Regions from separate parts of the Homo sapiens genome. Here regions 1, 2, 3 and 4 are each linked to region 5. The links are contacts of gene promoters, found by promoter capture Hi-C in human tissues and cell types (Jung and others, 2019). All regions are on one chromosome and are shown on one strand. The core of a region is centred on a gene start or on the middle of the fragment in contact, and the rest is flanking DNA. Distances in the headings are between cores, read along the strand shown. Region 1 has its middle 11 kb from the start of TNRC6B-DT. Region 2 overlaps MRTFA (myocardin related transcription factor A). Region 3 holds the start of DESI1 (desumoylating isopeptidase 1). Region 4 holds the start of PMM1 (phosphomannomutase 1). Region 5 holds the start of RBX1 (ring-box 1).

What was found. Contacts are between HindIII fragments. The study calls those that stand out against the background at their distance.
Region 1: a contact is called between a fragment that was not itself captured here and the fragment with the promoter of RBX1 in region 5, in 1 of the 25 tissues and cell types used here (lymphoblastoid cells).
Region 2: a contact is called between a fragment that was not itself captured here and the fragment with the promoter of RBX1 in region 5, in 2 of the 25 tissues and cell types used here (dorsolateral prefrontal cortex and spleen).
Region 3: the fragment with the promoter of DESI1 here is called in contact with the fragment with the promoter of RBX1 in region 5 in 2 of the 25 tissues and cell types used here (dorsolateral prefrontal cortex and spleen).
Region 4: the fragment with the promoter of PMM1 here is called in contact with the fragment with the promoter of RBX1 in region 5 in 3 of the 25 tissues and cell types used here (adrenal gland, dorsolateral prefrontal cortex and spleen).

Annotation. Positions count from the first base shown.
Region 1 is chr22:40,053,865-40,057,738 of GRCh38, forward strand. It overlaps a transcript of TNRC6B not described here. Among named protein-coding and RNA genes, the nearest start is that of TNRC6B-DT, 11 kb to the left of the region's middle. The HindIII fragment of the contact is 4,520 bases long and covers 1-3,874 here.
Region 2 is chr22:40,433,417-40,437,048 of GRCh38, forward strand. MRTFA (myocardin related transcription factor A) reads right to left here. Exons shown (of 15, transcript NM_020831.6): 5 at 2,083-2,138. Among named protein-coding and RNA genes, the nearest start is that of SGSM3, 65 kb to the left of the region's middle. RefSeq lists enhancers at 2,875-2,934, 3,195-3,324, 3,445-3,494, 3,565-3,614. The HindIII fragment of the contact is 3,423 bases long and covers 322-3,632 here.
Region 3 is chr22:41,619,389-41,623,011 of GRCh38, forward strand. DESI1 (desumoylating isopeptidase 1) reads right to left here and starts at 1,655. Exons shown (of 6, transcript NM_015704.3): 1 at 1,364-1,655. The coding sequence starts at 1,451. XRCC6 (X-ray repair cross complementing 6) reads left to right here and starts at 1,907. Exons shown (of 13, transcript NM_001469.5): 1 at 1,907-1,957; 2 at 2,602-2,698. The coding sequence starts at 2,617. RefSeq lists an enhancer at 1,073-1,674 and a silencer at 1,406-1,675. The HindIII fragment of the contact is 13,467 bases long and covers 1-3,623 here.
Region 4 is chr22:41,588,550-41,592,269 of GRCh38, forward strand. PMM1 (phosphomannomutase 1) reads right to left here and starts at 1,291. Exons shown (of 8, transcript NM_002676.3): 1 at 1,170-1,291. The coding sequence starts at 1,256. RefSeq lists an enhancer at 416-1,095 and a silencer at 1,490-1,639. The HindIII fragment of the contact is 27,075 bases long and covers 1-3,720 here.
Region 5 is chr22:40,949,091-40,952,795 of GRCh38, forward strand. RBX1 (ring-box 1) reads left to right here and starts at 2,288. Exons shown (of 5, transcript NM_014248.4): 1 at 2,288-2,386. The coding sequence starts at 2,309. RefSeq lists enhancers at 1,250-1,840, 2,355-2,564, 3,020-3,608 and a silencer at 1,725-2,304. The HindIII fragment of the contact is 18,244 bases long and covers 1-3,705 here.

The DNA of each region.
Region 1 (3,874 bases), core at 853-3,352, 900 kb before region 5:
AATTTAAAACATTTACTTAAAAAGCAAGTGTAAATCTGATCATATTTCTCCCCTACTTAAAACTGTTAATAACTGGGTGCACAGGCTCGTGCCTGTAATCCCAGCACTTTGGGAAGCTGAGGTGGGTGAATATCTTGAGCTCAGGAGGTCAAGACCAGCCTGGGCAACATAGCAAAACCCTGTCTCTGCAAAAAATACAAAAATTAGCTGGGCGTGGTGGTGCCTGCCTGTAGTCCCAGCTACTCAGGAGGCTGAGGTGGGAGGCTAGCTTGAGCCTGGAGGCAGAGGTTGCAGTCAGCCGAGATTGCGCCACCACACTCCAGTGTGGGTGACAGAGTGAGACCCTGTCTCAAAAACAAAACTGTCAGTGAGGCCTAAAGACCCTGATAAGAACCTGAATTCTTGTTCTTGCCTTTTTCACTGACTGCCCAGTGAAGCTTCTGCCAGCGTCCCCTGCCTCTTTTCCTACTGTCTTCCCCCTTGCTGAGTGTACTCTCACCATACTGACCCTCTTCAAGTTCCGGAAATGTGTGTTCTTCACTACCCAAGGTCCCTTCCTTGAGCATACTATTCTCACAGCTGGAAGCCCGCAGGCCCAACCTTAGTTAATGCCTCTTCAATCCTGAGCTCAGTGTGTGTGTCTCCTCTTTAATGACTTCCTAATCACCCCGCCCCACATTAGAAGATATCAATTGTATAATTATTTAATTTGTATATTATATTTCCCCTTCTGGAAAATAGCTACATGAATAAAAATACTCTGTTTTATTCACATTTGTGTCACCAACATCTAGCACTGTGAGTTGCACATAGTAGGTCCTCAATAAATATTTTTTCAAATGAAGTTAAGAAAGAGAATTTAAAATAGAATTTCTAAAAAACCTCATTTTAGGCAAAGCTTGGTGGCTCATGCATGTAATGCCAGCACTTTGGGAGGCCAAGGCAGGCAGGTCACTTGAGTCCAGGAGTTCGAGACCAGCCTGGGTGACATGGTGAAACCCATCTCTACAAAAAAAAAAAAAATTAGCTGGTTGTAGTAGTGCGCGCCAGTAGTCCCAGCTACTCGGGAGGCTGATACAGGAAGGTTGCTTGAGCCCGGGAGGCAGAGGTTGCAGTGAGCTGAGATTGCACCATTAAGCTCCAGCCTGGGTGACAGAACAAGACTCCGTCTCCAAAAAAAGAAAAGAAATTATGCTTGGGCTTGACATGATGACGCTCTCACTAAACATTTGAATGCATAGACATGCTGAATGCTGTGCTAGGAGCCAGGACTACAGAGGTGGGGCGAAAGGAGATCTTTGTTCCCAAGGAATGCACAGCCAGGTGGGTGAGACAGATGTGGACACAGATGAGTGCCATTTAGTGTAATAAGTGCTGTAATAGACAGTACAAGAGGTGCTGCGGGGATGAAAAGGAAGGTCATCAACACGATGGGGAGGTTGAGAAAGCCTTCCCAGGGAAGGTGACACTCACACTAAGTTGTGGAGGAAAAGGGCATTTCCGGCAGAGAGAACAGCCTGTGTAGAGGCATGGGGGAGCGTTTTTAGTATGTGGAGAAGATGACCGGCACAGCGGTATGCTTTACAAGGCTGGCATTAGGGTACAGGGCTAATAGCTGACTTACAGTTGAACCATGATATGTCAGACTCAGCCTCTTACTCCACTGCAGTTTAGGACAGGAAATGACCTTAGAATAATGATCTGAATCTGTATGTTTGAATTCATAAAGGCATAGAGTACCATTCAGAGAAGATAATCATAAACCACAACGGCACTTGTCACTTCTAGTTAATATACTTGCTTCAGTGGTGTACCTATAACCATGCAAATGATGTTAGGTGGAATTAGAAAGTGGTGACTCATTTAAGCTTATCTGTAGGAGCAGAGAGTGTAAAGGAAGTGACTTCTAGATCACCTGAGGTGAGTGCTGATACCATCTCAAATGGATCAGACACTGAACCAGTGAAAGAGAGGAAATCAGAAAAGAGGACTACCCAGAAGGGCCTCTGGTATATGTTCTGGGAAAGACAGTTCCTACAGCTTGAAGGTCTTTACATATCTCCAAGTCTCCAAGTGGTTCACTGAGCTAACATTAATCTAATTTAATTCTCAACCAGATTTGAAAAAGGGAGATTAATTGGATAAAAATGTAGCCCATTTTCCTTCATTTACTCCTATTTGTTTTCAATGTCTCTTTCCTTTTCTGTCTCCTCCTATCCATTTTTCTCTCCCTGTTACTCTTAAGTAGTGTCTCCTTTCCCCATCCACCCCATCTCTAGCCATCTTCCATTCTATTTCCGCTAAGTTGCTTTCAGTTGCAGGATGTCCATACCTTGTTGGCTAAACTAATGTTTCTCAGCTTTGCATATTCAGAGCTTGATATTTTTCAAATGGGAAGAAGTGATTATGCTCTGGTAGTGCTGATTACACTCACAAGATGTTAATTGACTTACGGTAATGCCGATTTCTGCAAGTTCTGTGTATGTATTTGATCTACATAACAAAGGGCTAAGGAGCTAAGTGATGATAGGGAGAATGGTAGTAATGAATGCAGTTTAGTTTAAGATGTTTGGAAGAGAAAGGACAGAGAAAAATGGAAGCAGGACGAGGTTGAGAAGGCAACACCTTTAAGTAAGATAGAAAATCAGGCTGGGTGCAGTGGCTCATGCCTGTAATCCCAGCACTTTGGGAAGCCAGAGTAAGAGGATCACTTGAGGCCAGGAGTTCGAGACCAGCTTGAGCAACATAGTGAGACCCCCATCTCTACAAAAAATGTTTTAAACATCAACTGAGCATGATGGCACATGCCTGTAGTCCTAGCTACTCAAAAGGCTGAGGCAGGAGGATTGCATGAGCCCAGGAGTTGGAGGCTGCGGTGAGCTAGGATTGCATCACTACACTCCAGCCTGAGAGACAGAGTGACACCCTGTCTCAAAAAAAAAAAAAAAAAGAAAGAAAAATCTATAATCTATTAAAAGATATACAGGAAGCACCCAGCGGAGAAAGAAAAATGGAAGTTGCTTGAATAGAGATGGTAGCAGATTTGATGGGGCAAGGCCACCAGATTCCTCCCATGGGCACAGGTAGACTATATTCATTGGAAGTTCCTTGTAGTATCTCAACAGAGTAAGAAGTCGTCATGGGTTCTCATCTTGGATACCTTGAGCTCAAAATGAGTTTATGCTACTTTGTTTTGTCATGGCACCCACTAGAATGGTTTGCACATAGTAGGTGTAAACAGTCGAGATAAAGTCACAGGATTGAAAGATGATACTGATTATACCTTTAAACTTCTTACCAGGTAACACTATCTGTGGTTTATGACAAGGGAACATGTTTATTAATCCTCTTGTGAATAGTACAGTTACATTGAATTTTTTTCCTAAAGGTGTTGATTTATTAAATGTGTACATTGAAAATATGCCAGGTTTTTTTTTTTTTTTTTTGAGACAGAGTTTCGCTCTTGTTGCCCAGGCTGGAGTACAATGGCACCATCTCGGCTCGTCGCAACCTCCGCCTCCTGGGTTCAAGTGATTCTCCTGCCTCAGCCTCCCGAGTAGCTGGGATCACAGGCGTGTGCCACCACGCCCGGCTAATTTTGTATTTTTAGTAGAGACAGGATTTCTCCATGTTGGTCAGGCTGGTCTCAAACTCCTGACCTCAGGTGATCCGCAGCCTCCCAAAGTGCTGGGATTACAGGCGTGAGCCACCCTGCCTGGCCCAGAATTTTCATAATGGTGTTTTGGCATGTCTTTATTTAAAAAAATATATATACATATCTCGAGCCTCAAAAACTGGAAGTGGACCAGGCTTTCTAACCTGGAGACCCCCTGGTCAGCATATCAAGAGAAATGTCTTGGGTACTTGCTGGGTA
Region 2 (3,632 bases), core at 783-3,282, 520 kb before region 5:
TTAAGCCCAAGAGTTGGGATTCAGCCTGGGCAACATAGCAAAATCCCACCTCTAAAATTACAAAAAAAGGAAAACAAAGCAATCAGTTGTGTAAATACAACAGCATCTCAGAGCCCCTCAAGTGTGATCCTGACATAGCTGAAGCCATTGTGGATGCTTTCCCACCACCATGTATAGCTGCCTTATGTAGCACGCACAGATGTGAGCAGCTGGTTCCAACACCAGAAAAAGAAATGAAACTTCTCTTGAATACGAGCTGATATTGCTGTGTCTTATTCATCTGGAAGTATGAGATGCAAAAGTAGCAGCTTTTCAAAGCTTTAAGCTTTTAGAATTAAGTAAAGCAAATTCTGCTATAACCAATCCAATATATTCATGTTTCATATCTCAACTAAGATAATTTTTAGTACATGTGTAAATATGGAAGTAGTTATTGTAATGTGGAAGTCATTTGTGAATAGATGTGCATGGTAAGCAAATTGAACGTTATGGTTACCATGTGTTAGGAAATAAAATCATTTTGCTCAAAAAAAATCTAGAATCCACAAAGGTTTGACTCCCAGCTTTGCCACTTATTGGCTGGACAAGTGAGTTAACTTCTCTTAGCTGCATCTATAAAATGAGGATAATACCACCTAATTCATAAGAGTTGATGTGAGGATAAAAAAGAAACAGATACAACCTCTTACATAAAGGTGCTCAATAAAACAGTCTCTTCTAATCAGCTCTGCTGGTCCCTGCCTATTTGAGAAGCAGTCAAGTAAATGGTGCCCAGTCTTCTGACCGAATAGGCGCACAGGCAACGCCATCCTTTCCCCCAACACTGTACTCTCCAGTGCTCTCAGCAAACTAAACCACTGCTGCTTGTTACTCCTTTGGTTCCCAGGACCCATGACCTCATTCTTTCCACTTACTCTAAGAATTAATCATGATTTTCTGGGGAGAGGGGAATGAAAGAAAGTTTAAAAAAAAAAAAAAAAAGTCTTGGAGGTAAATATTTCTGAGACTCTAAAATAGCTGTGAGGCTGGGTGTGGTGGCTCATGCCTGTAATCCCAGGACTTTGGAAGGGCAAGGCAGGCAGATCACTTGAGGCCAAGAGTTTGAGACCAGGCTGGCCAACATGGTGAAACCCCATCTCTACTAAAAATACAAAAATTACCCAGGCGTGGTGGCGGGAGCCTGTAGGTCCAGTTACTTGGGAGGCTGAGGCAGGAGAATCGCTTGAATCTGGTAGGCGGAGGCTGCGGTGAACTGAGATCACGCCACTGCACTCCAGCCTGGGTGACAGAGTGAGACTCCGTCTCAAAAAATAAAGTAAAATAAAATAGCCGTGGGTCTTAAGGAGATGCAGCCCATGATCTGTCTAGGGGGATTATCTTCCCATGATTTTATGTGAAAGGAAAAAGTAAAGGGAGTGTGAGGGGGAAGCAAGTTCTGGTGACTTCCCCATCTCTACCCACACTGGGCAGCAGAATATTCCTCAGGGGCCCCTGGGGAACCGAAACAGAGTTGGGATGGGGACGCAAGTAAGGTGCTGTGGCAGAAAACTTGGGCTTGGAGTGTGGGCCAGTTTCTGCTTTCCACAAGAGTCAAGTGGATACCACCTACTCTGGGCAGATGGAGACCAAGAAGGTTTCCTGCCCCTTGGAATGCCCGTCCTGTGAGGTGTGGCCAGTGTAACCCCGGACTTGGGAAGCTTTTCCATTGGCTAATGTTTGTGTCCCAACATCTACAAAACGTTAAGTGGAATTAAAGATGGGGAAATACCAGTGGTCTCCAAAGCACTCCAAAATTCAGGCAAGGAGGATCGGGTGATCATTCCATATCCTTAAATGTACAAAAAGAGAAACCTCATTCCAATCATGTTCCATATAATCACCATGGGAGGTAAATGAGAGAAGGGATGAAGTAGGAGAAGCAGAGCTTTCCATTTAAAACCACAAGGCCAGGGCTGGCCCTAGAGTCTAGCAGGCTCTGGCCTCAGAGTTCTATGGAAAGCTCTAAATGGAAATATAACCAGCAATGCAATGAGCTCTGAAAATGCTCTTTGGGAGTTCTGAGGGGGAAAAAAGGTACCTTACCCTGGCCCGCTCCAAGCTCCTTCTCTGCTCATGAAATGCGGCTGGACTTTTCAAAGCTGTTGAGAGAAGAACCGTAAAGATTACCTTCAAGCGAAGCATCATGTCTAGTGCTACGATATTCAGTGGAGAAGGCATCTTAAATTCATGTTACTGGCTGGGCGTGGTGGCTCACGCCTGTAATCCCAACACTTTGGGAGGCTGAGGCAGGCAGATCACGAGGTCAGGAGATCGAGACCATCCTGGCTAACATGGTGAAACCCTGTCTCTACTAAAAATACAAAAAATTAGCCAGGCGTGGTGGTGGTGGGCGCCTGAAGTCCCAGCTACAAGGGAGGCTGAGGCAGGAGAATGGCGTGAACCTGGGAGGCAGAGCTTGCAGTAAGCCGAGATTGCGCCACTGCACTCTAGCCTGGGCAACAGAGCGAGAAACCGTCCCCCAAAAAAAAAAAAAAAAAATCACATTACTGTTAGTAGTACTATAAATATCAGTTGAAGTGAAGGCAATGACACCTGAGTAAGCATGTATCTTTATGGTTTAGCTACCCCATTCAAACAGTTTTGGTAGAAACCAAAATATGACTCCTAATGGGAACTGTCACTGCCTAAGCTTGGGCTATATAAAGTGCACCCATGGAATGTAACTTTAACAAACACCCTGGCCCATGACTGGACCGTCAGCCGCAAATCCCCCTTCAGCTAGGACTCCAAGAACGCCTGCTAGGCCTCACATTATTCTCAGGACACCTGCACACAGGAAGGGGCACAGATGCATGCCAAATTAACCTTACTTCCTCAACCTCACGAGGAATCATAAAGTGGCCAAACTGTTTCAATGGGACAGTTAAAACCAAAAAGATATATGTCCACTCGGCACTATTTCCTTCTTCACTGCACCTGTTATTTATAGTGCTGCTAAAATTAACTTGAATTTCATCTCTAAGGACTAAAAGAACCCCATGGCAATTGTATGTGAAGGAACACACACAACCGACAGCTGAGACGAAGGGCTCAGCTCTATTCTGGGGATACCACACAAAGACCACAAGTCTCGACTTCTGCAAACAACACTCAGGTGGCAAGACCAAACCAAGAGCCTCCAGAAAGGCTGCACCATGAATGGAAGGTCTGACTCCTTTTGTCAAAAACTTGGCTGTAAGGACAAATAGCAACTTAAGACACTCTGAGGATGAGAGGGAAAGGCCTGACTCACTTCAAGTAGGGAACAGAGGCAATAAGAGAGAAATTTATAAGACTGTGGTCAGTTTCACTTCTCCTGCCCTAGAATTTCCAAAGAGCTGTGAAACTGCGAGCAGAGATAACTTTTGCTAGGCTGCTGGCTGCGGTAGGAGTGCAGGGTTAAGGAGCTGCTAAAAGTAGCAAGAGAGCATAGATAGGACCCTATCCTGCCTGGGCCGTTGTGCTTCTTCCTCCTTCCTCTCCACCCCCAGCGGGGGGCTGGGCCTCAGCAACAGCAGTCCCAGAAGAAAGCTTCAATTGTCCCAGTGGTATTTATTTTTAAAAATTTTTTGTGAATCTTAAGATAAAAAAGA
Region 3 (3,623 bases), core at 405-2,904, 670 kb after region 5:
AGTTTACAGCAAAGTTTCTCTTCTACCCCTGTTCCCCTGGCATCAAGTTCCCCTTTCCATAAGCTACTGCTGTTATCAATTTCTTGTGTATCCTTACGGATAATTATTTGCCTAAGCAAGCACATATATATCCTTTGATTTGCATATTTAAAGAGCTATTCTAACCTTGTTTTTTCTAATCTCATTTACAATATATGTTGGAAATGAGGGTATCTGCATTTTTAACAAGCACCCTAGATGATTTTGATGTGAAGCCAAATATAGAAACAACTCATGGACCCACGGTTGTGAGATTAAGTTCAATTCACTACGACATATTAGAAACTCAAGGACATTGAAGGATGCCCTCAAAAGTAGCCTCCCTTACTTGATCTCTGCCCCCTCGTCTCACAGAGATGAACTAAATCATTCGCCAGTGTCTCCACAGAAGCCAGGAAAAACTAGCCATTCAAATGGATGCTGTCAAAGCTTCAATTTTCAATAATTGGAATTCTTTCCTGCTCATTGTTACCCGAAATTACAAACCTGACAATTCCTGTGTTACACAAGACATTCCTGTATTTAAGTTGAAATAAGGTGTGATCGTCACTGAATGAGGGCTGGTTTTTCTCCTGCCAGTTAAGTAGTTTAATGGAGCACAACCGAAATACTTTCTTTACTAATCCTTATTCACACAGCCTCATCCAAACTTCCCCCAAAACTGCTTTCTTGCCATTTGAGCAAAAGCAATTAACTTAGAAACTGTGGGGAGAAGACTGCTTGGTGAATTCTGGAGTTCGGGGCTCCTCTTATCCTGACTTGACCTACCTGGGGGCGATGGCTGGGTCCCTAGGCAGCTCTATCTCCCCCATCCCACCTATCCCTGGGACTGCAAAGGGAGCTTCCTTTTGGCACTGAGACAAGGTTCTCCGAGAGCCACCCGACCTCCGCAGTGTCTCTGTCACCACGAGGGGCACCGCGCGGCAGGCATCCTCACCTTTCCTACACCGCGCCAAGGAGGCAGGAGTGCACTGGGCTACCCGAGCGAGGCAGAGAACCCGCCGGGATCCAGCGCTGGTTTACCCCACACCCTCGTCGAAGGGGCTCTCGAGGGCTCGGTTTCTGCCCAAGCCCCCTGCAAGGTGGAGGCATGACTCCTCCATCCCTTCCCCTTGAATTCAAACGTGAGGATGGTATCTGCGAGGCTAAAGCGGGGCTCAGATGGCCCAAACTTCAGACCACTCTCTTCTCCACTCGGCTTTTCTTCCATCCTCCTGGCCATGTGTCTCCCCGTGAGTCGTGGCCCAAGTCTCCCCACCTCGGCCAGCCGCCACCCTCTGGCCTGGCTCCCGCCCTCCTGCCCACCTGGCCCCTTCCCCCTCACCCAGCATGATGGGGCTGAGCCGCCGGGCCAGGCCTTTGGACAGGTCGTACACGTAGAGCTTCACCGGATAGAGATTCGGCGGCTCCATTGGGACCCGTGGCGACGGCGGCCACGACGGCCCTCGGGCACCCGGCAGCGGCTTGGACCTTCCCGTACCCGACGGGAGTGCGAAGCGGAGGGAGAGGGGGGGACCGAGCCCGGGCCCGGGCTGAGGGGTGGGGGAGAGGCCGCCCTGCGCTGCTCGCGCCCCCACACCCGCTACCGGCAACGACTACTGTGAGGTGACAGAGAGGGGACAGGGAGGGCCCACACGGAAGAGGGGGCGGGGGCAGGGATGCACTTTTGCGCATGTGCTTACAGTCCTGACGTAGGAAGGGGCGGGGCTTTGCCGAAGGGGGCGGGGCTCTCGCTGATGGGTTGGCTTTCGTCAGGGACATAGGTAGAAGCTGGTTGGGGAGTGTGCGTGCCAGCCTGACGCGATATAGTGCGCACATGCGTGATGACGTAGAGGGCGTTGATTGGGACCGAGTACAGGGCCCGCGCATGCGTGGATTGTCGTCTTCTGTCCAAGTTGGTCGCTTCCCTGCGCCAAAGGTAAGCGGGCCGTTATCCATTTGTGTTGTTCGCCAGCTAGGCCTGGCCTCGTCCCGCTTCGCTCGGTCGGTCTCGCGCGCCCCCATAGCCTTGCTAGAGGGTTAGCGTTAGCCTTAAGTGTGCGAATCCGAGGAGCAGCGACAGACTCGAGACCACGCTCCTTCCTCGGGAAGGAGGCGGCACCTCGCGTTTGAGGCCCGCCTGCGTTTGAGGCCCGCCTGCGCTTGCGGCCCGCCTGCGCTTGAGGCCTGTCTGCGTTTGAGATCTCATTGGGCGTGATTGAGGAATTTGGGGAGGTTTTTGGGCGGTATTGAGGACGAGGGGGTCCGTTAGTCAGCATAGAATCCTGGAGCGGGAATCCCTCACCGTCTAAATGGCGTCGGGGGCGGGACCTCCGGGATCTGGCTTCCGCGGGCCGCCGCCGGCCCTGAAACGTGAGGGATAGCTGAGATGAGGCAGCTACTGGGATGGCCCCCATGCGCATTTACATGCAGTCCGACTGCCGAGCTTTCGAGGCAGCAGGATTTACCGTCCACATTCCTCACTACTAACCAAGCTTTTAGAACAGATCTCACAAGAACCTAGAGGTCGGTATTTTTTCGATTTAAATTTGCCTGTTACTGACGTTAACGTCTTTCGCCTAGTGAGCAGTAGCCAACATGTCAGGGTGGGAGTCATATTACAAAACCGAGGGCGATGAAGAAGCAGAGGAAGAACAAGAAGAGAACCTTGAAGCAAGTGGTAAGTGACTTCAGCATGTAGTGCCATTCGGTGTGTGGAAGAAAGACCTTCCCTGCCTATCTCTGCTGGATGGACTTTGCTGTTTGATGGCCTGCCCTTCTCCTCCCAGATAATTCTGAAATTCTTTTCTTCCTTTGAACTTCGCAGAGCTACCCTAGGCTCTTATATGCAGATCTTACTCTAGTGTGCCCTAAGTTTTTTTTGGACACTGGTAGTTTGACATCTTTTGGTCCCTGATAAATGGCCATGACCATAGGTATTTTTTGTCATCTTAAGTGGTTCAGGTGAGACCCTTCTCATCCAGGAAAGTAGTGTTACCATTCCAGGACCTCAGTGTAAAAATGCCCCCACCCTGCAATAACTACACCAACCAAAGAATAAACGCAAGCAACACAGTTACAGGAAAGTGATTGATTCCCTCACTATAGCCTCCACGTTTGGGAGTGTATGTGCAGGCAACACAGTAACACATAAAACAAAGGAAGAGAAATAGGGGTACATGTAATCTTCATACTGGTTAATTTAACTCCTGAGCAGAAAAATTTTGAATATTTTTATTAAAAATGAGAAACGGCCAGGCGCGGTGTCTCAAGCCTGTAATCCCAGCACTTTGGGAGGCCGAGGCGGGCGGATCACGATGTCAGGAGATCAAGACCATCCTGGTTAACACGGTGAAACCCCGTCTGTACTAAAAAAAAAATACAAAAAATTAGCCGGGCGTGGTGGCGGTCGCCTGTAGTCCCAGCTGCTCGGGAGGCTGAGGCAGGAGAATGGTGCGAACCTGGGAGGTGGAGCTTGCAGTGAGCCGAGATGGCGCCACTGCATTCCAGCCTGGGTGACAGAATGAGACTCTCTCAGGAAAAAAAAAAAAGTGAGAAACATAGGAAATACAAAAAAGAAAAAAATTTGCTATAATCTACCACTC
Region 4 (3,720 bases), core at 41-2,540, 640 kb after region 5:
TCACCATGTTAGCCAGACTGATCTAGAATTCCTGACCTCAGGTGATCTGCCCACCATGGCCTCCCAAAGTGCTGGGATTACAGGCGTGACCCACAAGCAAATGGCCCACCTTTGCTCCAGTCCTGCTATCTTCCTCCCGGATCCACCCCTGCAGGAAGGCCTCCAGGGCCCAAGCCAGGGCAACTTCACCACAGAGGATGGGGAGGGGCATTCGGGACCTAAGAGAGGAGGCTAAGACCTGGGTTCCCATCAGCCACTGCCCAGTAAAGCCCATCCCACTGCTCCCCCACGCTAGGAGACCTGTTGGTTGGTCCTTGAGGCCCCCAGACTGGAGGGTGGGTTACCCACAGGGAGGGCATGAATGAAGCCTGCTTACTGATGCATCCAGCTGGTGAGGGGGCTTTTGGGGACTCACTCACAATGAGACCCAATGGGAGAAAAACTGAGCAGAGGTAAGAGGCTCAACACAGCGAGAGTCTTTAGAAGAAAACTAGACTCTTACCCTCACTATTCCTCAGTGTCCTCACAGCAAACAGGCTAGGCCTGGAGCCTCTCACATCCGGGTGGGTAGAGCTCATAAACGAATTTGAAAAGAAGCCCTCTCTGCTCCACGACTGGGGGTGGAAGGTAAAGTGGGTGATGGGGCTTCAGAAACTAGACCCAGTCCCAGGCCTGCAAAGGTCGGGGTGGGAAGACTCCGAGACGCCCTGTCTCCCACCAGATGATGACTGACGCTTGGCTGTGTGCTTGTGTGCCTGGAACCCCGGTTCAGAAGCCAGCTCCGACCACTGGTGTGTCGTAGGGCTGAACTAGGGTGGGATCCCCAGCTCAGGAGGCGGGGGCGTCCGTGAGCCAGGCCTTAGCGGCGTGTGACAGCCTCCGGGGAGGGAGGGAGCTAGGCCCCTGCTCGCAGCCTCCTCCCTCCAGTACTGGATCCAACCCCAGCACTCCCAAGCAGAACACAGGCAAGGACGCTGCGGGGTCAGTGACGTGAGGGCCAGGTCCCCTCACTCCCGGTGGGTGGCCCCGGATGTCAGGGGGCCGGGTACCGCCGCATCCCACACTCGGTCCCCGGGTGTCCACGGTCACGCTGCTGCAGACCCCACACTCAGCCTCGGGGGTGTCCGCGTGACACTCCCGGTGGGAGCTTCCAATCTTCAGGGTCCTACCTGGCGAGCCGGCGTGAGGGTCCCGTCCACGTCAAACAGGCAGAGGACGCGCTCCTTCCTGCGGGCTGCCTGGGCGGTGACTGCCATGGCTGCAGGTCCGCGCGCGGGGCGGAGTCCCGAAGATGCAACGGCAGAAGCAGCTCAGGGATAAGTGCTGACGGGGCGGGGCATTAGGGGGCGGGGGCCAGTGGACTGCCTGATTGGCCAAATGAAGAAGGGGCGTGGTCTAGGCGGGCGGAAGCGGGGGCGGGGCCTGAGCTGATTCTCATTGCTCGTGGAGGAGGGGAGCGCGGCATAGGGCGGAGCGGAGCCCTCCAGGTTCGATTGGATTGCTCCAAACAAGGCGGAGGAGGGGCCTGAGCCTGGGACCCGCAGGAAGTGAGAGGGTGAACCCGGAAGACAGGGGCGGGGCCAGAATTGGCGGGTTGATAGTGATTGCAACAGGCCGATTAAGGGGCTGGGTCGGGCGGGGCCTCTACCATGCAGTGCAGTGTCTAGTGGGCCAGGCGGGACTAAGAGAGCCGAGGTCGCTCCCCATCCACTCTCACAAGGTTTGTGGCCATCTCTTTGCCTTACAAATTTTGAGCTGTAGGAAATCTCCTGAGCCGGGCGCGGTGGTTCACGCCTGTAATCCCAGCAGTTTGGGACGTCGAGGCGGGCGGATCACCGGAGGTCGGGAGTTCGAGACCAGCCTGACCAACATGGAGAAACCTCGTCTCTACTAAAAATACAAAATTAGCCAGGCGTGGTGGCGCATGCCTGTAATCTCAGCTACTCAGGAGGCTGAGGCAGGAGAATCGCTTGATTCCAAAGAAGCCAGAGGTTGCGGTGAGCCGAGATCGCGCCATTGCACTCCAGCCTCAAAAAAAAAAAAAAAAAAAAAAAAGGAAAGAAAAGAAAAGAAAAGAAATCTCCTGAAGGCCTTTGTTCAGGCTTTGGACTTTGCCAAATTGCCTTCCCCGAGCCTTATTCCTTCTGTCCACACATAAGACCCAGCTCTCAGGGTCTACCTGCTTGGAGACCTTCCCAGATTCTTCTTTTTTTTTTTTTTTTTTGAGACAGAGTCTCGCTCTGCCCAGGCTGGAGTGCAGTGGCGGGATCTCTGCCCACTGCAACCTCCACCTCCCAGGTTCAAGCGGTTCTCATGCCTCAGCCTCCCGAGTAGCTGGGACTGCAGGCGTGTGCCACCATGCCCACCTAATTTTTGTATTTTTACTTACTTTTATGTTTATTTTATTTTATTTTTGACACAGGGCGATTTATTTATTTATTTATTTATTTTTTGAGACTGGGTCTCACTCTGTTACTCAGGTTGGAGTGCAGTGGCATGATCTCGGCTCACTGCAACCTCCGCCTCCCAGGTTCAAGTGATTCTCCTGCCTCAGCCTCCTGAGTAGCTGAAACTACAGAAGTGCGCCACCACGCCCGGCTAATTTTTTTTTTTTTTCTGAGACGGAGTTTTGCTCTTGTTGCCCAGGCTGGAGTGCAATGGCACGATTTCAGCTCACCACAACCTCTGCCTCCCGAGTAGCTGGGATTATTTTGTACCCACTACCACGCTCGGCTAATTTTTTATTTTTAGTAGTAATTTTGTATTTTCACCATGTTAGCCAGGCTGGTCTCGAACTCCTGGCCTCAGGTGATCTGCCTGCCTCAGCCTCCCAAAGTGCTGGGAATACAGGCATGAGCCACCGTTCCCAGCCAACCTTCCCAGATTCGATTCACAATTATTTAACCATTGCGTTGACTTTGGAGTCACTTCCAGGTTGCCTTCCCAGCTCCACCACTATGGGACCTTGGACAAGTCACTTCACCTCTCAGAGGCTTTGTGTCTTCACCTATAAAATGGGATGAACACCACCTGCTTTGTAGGTTTGCTTTTCACATGAAAATAAGTAACAGGCTGGGCGCGGTGGCTCACGCCTGTAATCCCAACACTTTGGGAGGCCGGGATGGGCAGATCACCTGAGGTCATGAGTTTGAGACCAGCCTGGCCAACATGGGGAAAGTCCGTCTCTACTAAAAATACAAAAATTAGCCGGGCATGGTGGCAGGAGCCTGTAATCCCAGCTACTTGGGAGGCTGAGGCGGAAGAATCACTTGAACCTGGAAGGCGGTGGTTGCAGTGAGCCGAGATGATGCCACTGCGCTCCAGCCTGGGAGACAGAGGGAGACTACACCTCAAACAAACAAACTAACTAACTAACTAACTAACTAAATAAATAAAAAATAACTGTAGAGCTGGATGCGGTGGCTCACACCTGTAATTCCAGCACTTTGGGAGGCCAAGGTGGGTGGATTGTTTGAACCCAGGAGGTCAAGATCAGCCTGGGCAACATGGCAAAATGCTGTCTCTACTAAAAATACAAAACATTAGCCAGGCATGGTGGCAGGCACCTGTGGTCCCTCAGGAGGCTAAAGTAGGAGAATCACCAGGAAGCTGAGGCTGCAACGAACCAGATCTTCCCACTGCACTCCAGCCTGGGTAACAGTAGTGAGACCCTGTCTCAAGAAAAAAAAAAAAAAAGATGCAGATCATATGAGTCAGCAA
Region 5 (3,705 bases), core at 1,038-3,537:
TCACCATGTTGGCCAGGCTGGTCTCTAACTCCTGACCTTAGGTGATTCTCCCACCTCGGCCTCCCAAAGTGCTGGGATTACAGGCTAGAGCCACCTCGACTGGCCCTGAGACTTCTTGATGTATTTATTTGTTGACTTGCATATTATTCCCTAACTAGGGGTTTATTTGACTCTGTTATTATGTCTCTTCTGTTTAAAACAGAACCTGGTAAATATCAATACTTTTATTGAATGATTGATAAATATGTCTTCAAGACCTTAATTTACAATGGGTTTCTAGTATTCCTGTCAGGGCCTGTAGGCACACAACAAATTAACAACAGAAATTTTAACAAAGTCATTAAAACTTGGGCTAAGAAAAACTTTGTAGGGTTCTTGTAGCCCTTTAAGGTCTCACACAATTTTTCTTTCCAAGTCTGGATAAAGCTGTGGTGGTCTTTTCCCGGATCTGTTGTTGCTGTTTATAACTAACAAACAAATCTCAGTTCTTTCTCTTTTATTATTTTTTTTGGGGGGGAACGGAGTCTCGCTCTGTCACCCAGGCTGGAGTAGAGTGGCTCGATCTCGGCTCACTGCCACCTCCACCTCCCGGGTTCAAGAGATTCTCCTGCCTCAGCCTCCTGAGTAGCTGGGACTACAGGCGCGTGCCACCACACCCAGCTAATTTTTGTATTTTTAGTAGGGACGGGGTTTCGTCATGTTGGCCAGGCTGGTCTCAAACTCCTGACCTCAGGTAATCCACCTGCCTCGGCCTCCCAAAGTGGCTCCCAGGCGTGAGCCACCGCGCCCAGCCTATTCTTTCTCTTTAGCAATAGAGTCAGCACGCTCCATTACCCGCCAGTTATCTTTTAAGAGAAAATACAAGGCTTCAAATGCACCTGTACGACATCTAAGAGTGCTCTGGCAGAGTCACACCTCTGCAAGGTTAGAGATGTCAAAGGGAGTCCTGGTCTAGCCAGAAATGGGAGAGTGACAAAGTACAGGTGCTTGGGTCGGGTGGGATGGCTCACTCCTGTGATCCCAGCACTTTGGGAGGCCGAAGTGGGAGGATCACTTGGGCCCAGGAGTTCGAGACCAGCCTAGGCAACATAGTGAGACCTTGTCTCTATTTTTTAAAAAAATTAAAAAAGAAAAAAAAAAAAAGCGGCTCTAGCACTTTGGGAGGCCGAGGCAGGCGGATCACCTGAGGTCAGGAGTTCGGGACCAGCCTGGCTAACGTGGTGAAACCCCGTTTCTACTAAAAATACAAAAAATTAGCCGGGCGTGGTGGCGGGCGCCTGTAATCTCAGCTACTCGGGAGGCTGAGGCAGGAGAATCGCTTGAATCCTGGAGGCGGAGGTTGCAGTGGGCCGAAATCGCGCCATTACACTCCAGCCTGGGCAACAAGAGTTAAAAAAGAATGCCTCACAAAAATTCAAGAAATACAGCGACTGCAGATGGGTCGGTTTCACTACAGCACAAGCAGCGGAAAAAGGACACAGATCGGGGAGAAATCACCCTACAAAGATGACAACTGAGGAATGCGGAGTGGGGACTGACACACGTTACGGTGAAACCGTGCACCACGACCAAAGGCGGTCCTAGGACTGCGACTATGTGGGCGCAGAGGCCACCCCCCAGGCTTGGCGGGCGAGTAAAGGCAGGGCTGGGGGCCTGCTCAGTGTGGCCTTAGGGAGGAACTTCGGGGGTCTCCTCTCTCCCCATCGAATCCCTGAGCAGTTCCCGAACAGAAATCGGAGACCAGACGGTGCCTGGGCCCCAGCCCTCCCACGGGGACTGCACCTTGGGCCTGGCTCGGAAGCGGGTCAGAGTCTGCGAAAGACCAGCGAGGACTCTTGGGTTTCGGGGCAGGCCGCGGGCGCCCACCCACGCCAGCACCGGGAGCCGCGCGGCGACTCGGCGAGCCCGGCAGGCAGGACAGGACTGCGGCGCAGGTCTGGCTCAGGCGGAGGAAGCAGCCGCCGCCCCAGCTGACGGAGTGCGGCCGGGGGCTTCCCAGAGGAGGCGGCGACGTCGAGCCCTTTCGAACGTTTCCACCCGGCTAGCTCACGTAGCCTCGGCCCCGCCCGGCCCCGCCCGGCCCCGCCCCACCCACTCCGGCCACCGCCCCCTCCCCGGCCTACAGTTCGCGGGTGGGGCGACCTGCGACAGCCCCTTTAAGAGGCGTGGTCACGTGCTCCGCCCCCACCTCCGCCTCGCGCGCCAGTAAGGGGTGGGGTGCGGGAGGAGGTGCCGGGGAGGTGGGGGGAGCGAAGTGTGCGCTGCTGCGCAGGCGCGGTGGTCGGACGACAGACCGTGTGTTTCCAAAATGGCGGCAGCGATGGATGTGGATACCCCGAGCGGCACCAACAGCGGCGCGGGCAAGAAGCGCTTTGAAGTGAAAAAGGTTGGGTCTCGCCAGCGCCTTCCTCAGGGAAGCTAGAGAGGCGCGGATCTGGCTGGCAGGCCCGAGGATGGTCGAGGCGCGGAGTAAAGGGTTTCATTTCAGGGCGTTCCTGGGACCGGGTACCACGAAAGGAAGCCGGGGGGCGGGTCTTAGAGTTGATCGGCGTGACGGCGGCCCACTGTTGGGGGAAGTGTTGGTTTCGCTGTGAGGCTAAGGGGCCAATCACAGAGCTGCTTATTGAGATACGCGGGGTTGCGACTTGGCGGCGGGAGCCAAGCGCTTGAGCTGTCACTGGAGTGGTTGAGAGGTGGGGGAAGGACAGGGTAGGGTGGGGTGGGGTGGGTGGAATGGGGAGTCGAAGCGAATGCGGCGGTGGAGGATGGGGCAGTGCGGCGAGAGCCTGGAACCTGAGGTCCTACCGCATTAGAGGCCTCTGAGGACCCCCCTTGGTGATCTTGCTCCGCCCCTTTTTGAAGCTTGGGGTCCTCTCACTTGGAGGGGTCCTCTCACTTGGAGGGATCCTCGCTGAACCGAGGCCTCACACTGCCTGGTTAGAGTCTGGAGTGTAATGCTTGGCTCTTCTGAGACGTCTGTTGGCTTTTCACACAACCACCCCACTCTTGGGTTCTCTGTCACGTCCAGAATCTCCCCCTTCCAAAATAATAATAAAAAGCATGGTGGAACTTGTTAAGAAAATCCGAGCCCAAATCCTGTGGCAGTTAGGGAGGGTTGAGTACTAGTCGCGAACGACTTGGTAAGCGTGGGAAAGCAAAAATGGAACGTGTCTTTTTGCATGAAATGCCTTTTAGTGGTTTGCCACAGTTTGGGAGAACAGTATCGATTCTCACCTAACATGAAAGCTGTTCAAAATGGAGATTCTAAAATAGGGAAGATATTCCTAGAACATCTGGCTAAACACTGACAATATCCCCCGTCCTAGTGCTTTTTGGTGTCTCATTGTGGCCACTGCTGCTCAGTTACAGCCAGCAGCCATATTGAAAAATAATAGAAGTAGGGGCTTTTCCTCCACCTTGAAGCTGTGATGTGAAAAGTGGTAAAGAAGTTACTAGGCACTGAGAATGGGGTTTGAAAGCGAAGAAGGTTTGGGAGTATTTGTAATTGAGGAAGCCAGAGTTGAATGAATGAAATTCTGTTAAACTCTTACTGGAATTATTATCTTAATAGAAGAGTCTAAACATATAAAAGTTGAGAACATCAGTTTATTTTATGGTAAGAATCAAAATTCTAGTGAATTGTAGAATTTGTTATGAAGTAATCTAAGATTTAAGTGATGACCTTGTTCTGTGTACTGACACGGG